Regions from separate parts of the Homo sapiens genome. Here region 2 is linked to region 1. The links are contacts of gene promoters, found by promoter capture Hi-C in blood cells and fetal thymus (Javierre and others, 2016). All regions are on one chromosome and are shown on one strand. The core of a region is centred on a gene start or on the middle of the fragment in contact, and the rest is flanking DNA. Distances in the headings are between cores, read along the strand shown. Region 1 holds the start of RESF1 (retroelement silencing factor 1). Region 2 overlaps BICD1 (BICD cargo adaptor 1).

Region 1 (3,359 bases), core at 204-2,703:
GAGCACAACTTTACTCTTTAATTATCGTGTACATTCCCATTTCCCTCCAAACACGTCAGTCCCTCTCCACACAGTGTTTACTTCTTTGGTCCTAGGGACAGCAAGAAACATTTTATAATAAAAGAGCACATGCTAATGTGTTTACTAGATATGACACTGCTGTGCAAAACTGTTTTCTTTTATGGCTGCACTGAAAGCATGCTAAGTTTACTGAATTCTTATTAAGTGTCCTAAGTAACAGAAATAGAAACTAGGTCTGGCCTGAAAATACCATTCACTTAAGTTAGAATTTATGTGCGCTCCTCTAGGTCCGCTATTGTAGTATCACTGCAAAACAATAATACTTTATCTCTGCACTTGTCTTTATTGGATTAATATTAAACAGAAAAAAATCCGACTGCACAGGGGAAAAAACCTAAAACCTTAACATGCATGCACATTAACAGTGACTGAAACATGATTAAAGCTAACACATTTAGCAGAAAAATGCAATCCCCAAACAAGCTCTGCGGCCCGCCTACTGAAATGCACCCGCCCGCCACTAAATGAAAATGCGCCTCAAGCTCATACACATCCTTATGTTAAGACAGTATGCACTCGATGTACTACAAATAAATTGTTTTCACGGAAATGATTCCCCGAAAGTTTGCTGCTGAACTCAGGACCCTAAGGACGTTTGCTTAGGGAATCCGTGTCCCTCGAGAACACCTAAGATGGGTATGCGTTTGTGCATTTAAAAATGCCTCAAGGAACTATTGCTGAGGAACAGAAACCATCGCCGGCGCAGAAGCGTTCGCGGACCACTTGGAGATAGATGCCAGTACAGCAATTCTGTTCCAGGAGGCTTCGGCTTAAGAGGGCCGGGGAGGAGGAGAACCCTCGGGAAATAGCAAAAAAAAAAAAAGATTTTTCTTTTTCACTCCAGCGACAGGAAAGCCTTAAAAACATAAGCAGCTCTCATACCCACCCGCCTCACCAGCCGCGCCTCGCAGTTCGACAAAATGCGTCCTAGCCTTCGCCACTCGCGACCTCTACCGCGCAGAGCCAGGCAATGAGGGAAAACAGCCAGCGAGGCCCGCCCTCCGGTGCAAGGCTCGGCATCCGCGGAGGCCCAGGGCCGGCCCCGGTGCGGCGGGCAGAAGCAAGCGCGGCGGCCCGGCCCAGCTCCGGTGGGCGGACGGCGGGACGCGCGAGCCGGCGGGGCCCGAGGCCCGGGTTCCGGGGCCGCCCGCGACTGCGTCTTTGCCGCAGAACAAAAGCGCTCTGCGCCGCGCGCAGGCCCGGACCGCGAGTGCCTCTGGCTCCCGGCTCCCGGCCCCCGCCCCGCCCGGACCCCGGAAGGCGGAGGGACCTCGGGGTGCTCGTCTCACACTTACCGACAAAGGGAAGAGGACCACCCCGGCAAGCGGGGAGAAAACCGGCGGCCTCCCGGGCCCCAGAGTTTAAGTCAAGTGGGGTCCGCCTCCAGGGGCGGGTCGAGGAGCCAGGCCCAGGATCCAGGAACAGCTACGCTCCGCCTCACGCCCGAGGCGGTGGCTGCGAGGGCCGCGCCGCCGCGGTCCTAGTGCCACCAGAGAAGCCGCGGACCCGGCCCGCAGATAACACCCGGGCTTGCAGAGCGCTTTCATCTGCCCGACGCGGAAATCTCCTGCAGCGATCTTCTACCTTCAGCGTGCATCCGCAGCACCCAGAGGGCACGTTAAAGAGAGATTGAGAACCACCAGCAAAACTGCTGATTCAGTAGGTTTGGGGTGGGGCTGAAAAATGTGCATTTCTAACAAGTTCCTGAGACCGACTGTTGCTGCTGGCCTCAGGACCAATTTTTTCTATAAAGCGCATGGAAGTCAGAGTGCACCCAAGAGATTGTTAACCCTTAAAAAACAGAAAAAAAAAAAAGAAATCAACAAGTTAGAGGCAAATAAGTGTGAAAGAAAGTGGATAGTCTATTTGGGGATTCTGAAAGTCCCTGAGGAAAGTTGACTTTGGAGACCAGATCACGAAGCACGACCTCTTAATTGCCGACCTTTTGTTATAGATTAACTCCCTTATTTTCTTGTTCCCAGCTCAGACCAGATGGCATCTGAGATAAAATACGCATTGAATAAGATAAATGACCGCTTGACTATTACATCCTTAATGTGGAATGTTAAATAGACCCTTCCCAAAAAGAAACACTGCCTTGAACCAATCAAATTGCTATGCGTTAACCTTCTATGGAAAATGTTGACATCCTGTTAAGCTTCCCAGACCCTGCCTGTGTAAACGACCCTCAAACTTCTCCCTTTCGAAGCACTGACCCCCATCTTTTGGAGTCTGTGTCCTACCGGGTCGCCATCCTCAAACTTTGCACTCAAATAAACCAATATTTAATCATATTGCCCGAATCTCATTATTAAGGTTTACGTAAGCGTTTACTTAGTAATGAAGGTTGCAACCAGGATGGCAAATCAGAGATTGTGCCACTGGAGAGGGGCAAGGGAGCTTATGTTTATAGGAATTTATTTGTTACATAAATTGTCAGATTAGTTCATTGGTGAATTAAACGAAGAAGTCTTTAGTCATTACTAGAAGAGTGCGTTTGCGTCTGTCAGAAACAAAACAAAAAAACTACATACAGAATATTCTTTCTTTTTTGGGGGGGGGACGGAGTCACGCTCTGTCGCCCAGGCTGGAGTGCAGTGGCACGATCTCGGCTCACTGCAAGCTCCGCCTCCCAGGTTCACGCCATTCTGCTGCCTCAGCCTCCCAAGTAGCTGGGACTACAGGCGCCCGCCACCATGCCCGGCTAATTTTTTGTATTTTAGTAGAGACGGGGTTTCACCATGTTAGCCAGGATGGTCTCGATCTCCTGACCTCTTGATCCGCCCGCCTTAGCCTCCCAAAGTGCTGGGATTACAGGCATGAGCCACCGCGCCCGGCCAGAATATTCTTAAAGATTGGGGGTGGCCAGGTGTGGTGGCTCAGGCCTGTAACCCCAGCACTTTGTGTCACGCGCATCCGTGTGAAGAGACCACCAAACAAGCTTTGCGTGAGCAACAAGACTGTTTATTTCACCTGGGTGCAGGCGGGCTGAGTCCGAAAAGAGAGTCAGCAAAGGGTGGTGGGATTATCTTTAATTCTTATAGGTTTTGGGAGAGGCTCCGCGGAACAATGTTTTGCGGGCAGGGGGTGGATCTCACAAAGTACATTCTCAAGGGTGGGGAGAATTACAAAGAACCTTCTTAAGGGTGGGGGAGATTACAAAGAACCTTCTTAAGGGTGGGGAGAATTACAAAGAACCTTCTTAAGGGTGGGGGAGATTACAAAATACATTGATCTGTTAGGATGGGGCAGAAACAAATCACAATGGTGGAATGTCA
Region 2 (3,012 bases), core at 187-2,686, 180 kb before region 1:
TAGATAGATAGACCAATAGATAGATAGATAGATAGATAGATAGATAGATAGGATAGATAGGTGGGGTTTTTTGTTTTTTTTTTTTTTTTTTTTTTTTTTAGACAGAGTCTCACTCTTTTGCCCAGGCTGGAAGTGTGGTGACACGATCTCAGCTCACTGCAACCTCTGCCTCCCAGGTTCAAGCGATTCTCCTGTCTCAGCCTCCCCAGTAGCTCAGAGTACAGGCGCCTGCCACCACACCTGGCTAATTTTTGTATTTTTAATAGAGACGGGGTTTCACCATGTTGGCCAGGCTGGTCTCGAACTCCTGACCTCTAGTGACCCGCCCACCTTGGCCTCCTAAAGTGCTGGGATTACAGGCCTGAGCCATCACGCCAGGCTGTCAATAAACTTTTATGTTGACATACTTCAATAGAGTTTCAGTCAATCCCTCTTTTCCCTCCCTAATTTTTCCTATTTGAAAAGAATCCGCTCTCTCCTGTTTTGTTCAGCAAAATGTAAAACATTGATAAGATTTATACCTTTTTGAAAAAAATAGACTATGGTTGAGCCCATACATTCGATGAACATTTGTTCGTCACCTACTATGTGCTAGGCTCTGGGGAGAAACAAAAACAAATGAAACAAGAATCACCAAGACTCAAGAAGCTTACAACGAACGGCGAATAAAAAGGCTAGAAAACCACTGGCTTCGGGAATCTGTGGTAAGTGCTATTCAAAATGGGTGTCCAGGCCAGGCGCGGTGGCTCACGCCTGTAATCCCAGCACTTTGGGAGGCTGAGGCGGATGGATCATTTAAGGTTAGGGGTTTGAGACCAGCCTGGCCAACATGGTGAAACCCCACCTCTACTAAAAATAGAAAAATTAGCTGGGCGTAGTGGCGGGCGCCTGTACTCCGAGCTACTCGGGAGGCTGAGGCAGGAGAATCGCTTGAACCCAGGAGGTGGAGGGTGCAGTGAGCCGAGATTGCACCACTGCACTCCAGCCTGGGCGACAGAGCAAGACTCCGCTCAAAAACAAAACAAAACAAAAAGTGTGTCCAAAGGAAGGGCCTCTAAATCAGATTTCTCATGGGGCATTAGAAATATAGAATTTTGTTTTTGCCATATTTTTCATACAATCTTAGCTTAATAACAAAAACACAAATTAGTCACAGGCAGTCATCAGGACAAAAAAAAATCAGAAATATAAATTCTGAATAAGCTATAAACTAGATAACAAGGCCTTGAATAATTCCATTTTCTTAACTTTAAGTTGATATCTAATAAGACAGGAGTGCAACATCGAAACGCTGTCTTGTTTGAATTATAAATCTTCACTTTAAAGCGGCAGATGGAGCGCCTTATGTTCACAGAAAGCAAGCCAAGGGCTCAGAAAAGGTAACCACTCCGCCAAAGGGAAAGACACAAAACAGAAAACATGGCTCTGAACTTATATGCCCTCGAAGGGTTAACAGATGCCTGAATTTGTGAGAATTTTACAGAATTAGAATGGAACTAGTACAAAGTCCTCCAATGTGTTTTCCTTTCTGGGTCATGCAAACACGTACGTTCTACGGAAGATTTCAAGTACAACAAAAAAATCCGGGTTTCCCATCACAGAACCTAAGTCGCCGCATTTCCTCTGGTGTATAACATGTTGTTGATGCAGTTATTGTCCTTTGTTTTTTTTTTAGCTCTGTTTCCTTAAATGCCAAAACTACACACACGAAGTATGTAATACGAACACTGTGACAATGAGGAGATGCAAGTAACATTTTATTCACCTGAAGAAACTAAACCCCAACATTTTGCTTTTTGTCTACAGACACAGTTCCTGTAAACACAGAATCAAATACGGTGCGCGTAGAAAATAAAAAGATCCTCCCACACTATGGCACTTCCTTCAATGGAGGCTACTCGGGAGGCTGAGGCAGCGAATTGCTTGAACCCGGGAGGCGGGGTTGCATTGAGCTGAGATTGCGCCACTGCACTCCAGCCTGGGCGACAGAGCGAGACTCCGTATCAAAAAACAAACAAAACAACAACAACAACAACAAACAAGATGTTGTATTCTTGACATTTAGGCATTTTCTAAAATATTACATTTTTTATAAAATTTCTCTGCCATGGAAAAAAAATCCACCTTTGCCAGAGCAAAGGAAGCCAGTGAAAGAAGTAATTCATTGGGAGTATAATTATAAGCATTTAGCATTGTTTTGAACATGAGAAAAAGGCAAGCTTTCATCTAACAGATTTTCATAATCTCAAGAAATAATTCATCTGCCATTTATTTTCAGGGAAATGTGGTGCTTCTTGGAAGAAGCCCAGAGGATCCTGCTGTTAAACCAAGACCCATGCAGGAAAAAAAAATTATCCACTCCACAATAACATGGCAGGTAACACAAAGGCAGTGGTACTTCTCCAGCCGGGAGAGGCCCCCTCAAAACAGGAACTCCTGCCGGCTGACTTAATTACAGCACAGCAAGGGAATCCACTACAAAGGCAGGAGCCACTGAACAGAGAGCTGCTGAGATCCGTCCTCGGTACACGGACAGATGGTTCTGCTGCTTCTCGGCTGGTATAAGACCTTATAGAAGACTCTGAAAACTGAAACACGCCAACAAGTTTTCTGTTACCAGTATTTTTTTTTTAACTCTGTGCCCAGGCCAGGAGCGGTGGCTCACGCCTGTAATCTCAGCGCTTTGGGAGGCCGAGGCGGGCGGATCGCGAGGTCAGGGGTTTGAGCATCCTGGCCAACATGGTGAAACCCCGTCTTTACTAAAAATACAAAAATCAGCTGGGCGTGGTGGCGCTTGTCTGTAGTCCCAGCTACTTGGGAGGCTAAGGCACGAGGAATCGCTCGAACCCAGGAAGAGGAGGTTGCAGTGAGCCGAGATTGCACCACTGCGCTCCAGCCTGGCGACAGAGCGAGACTCCGTCTCAAACAAACAAATAAACAAAAAAACCCTTTGTGCCCACCGTATGCTAGCGTAAAAGTAATCTGAATTTGAAAGTCAATCAGCAAGTATTT

What was found. Contacts are between HindIII fragments. The CHiCAGO score rates a contact against its expected background, and 5 or more counts as called.
Region 2: a contact is called between a fragment that was not itself captured here and the fragment with the promoter of RESF1 in region 1, in 1 of 17 cell types (naive CD4 T cells). The highest score is 5.2, in naive CD4 T cells.

Annotation. Positions count from the first base shown.
Region 1 is chr12:31,957,509-31,960,867 of GRCh38, reverse strand. RESF1 (retroelement silencing factor 1) reads right to left here and starts at 1,453. Exons shown (of 6, transcript NM_018169.4): 1 at 1,377-1,453; 2 at 1-91. It overlaps LOC105369725 (a long non-coding RNA gene), which reads left to right and starts at 1,564. Exons shown (of 2, transcript XR_931503.2): 1 at 1,564-1,740; 2 at 2,064-2,375. RefSeq lists a silencer at 1,143-1,482 and enhancers at 2,535-3,328, 3,332-3,359. The HindIII fragment of the contact is 2,403 bases long and covers 1-2,241 here.
Region 2 is chr12:32,139,493-32,142,504 of GRCh38, reverse strand. All of the region lies in intron 1 of BICD1 (BICD cargo adaptor 1), which reads right to left. Among named protein-coding and RNA genes, the nearest start is that of BICD1-AS1, 34 kb to the right of the region's middle. RefSeq lists an enhancer at 2,510-2,559. The HindIII fragment of the contact is 1,571 bases long and covers 651-2,221 here.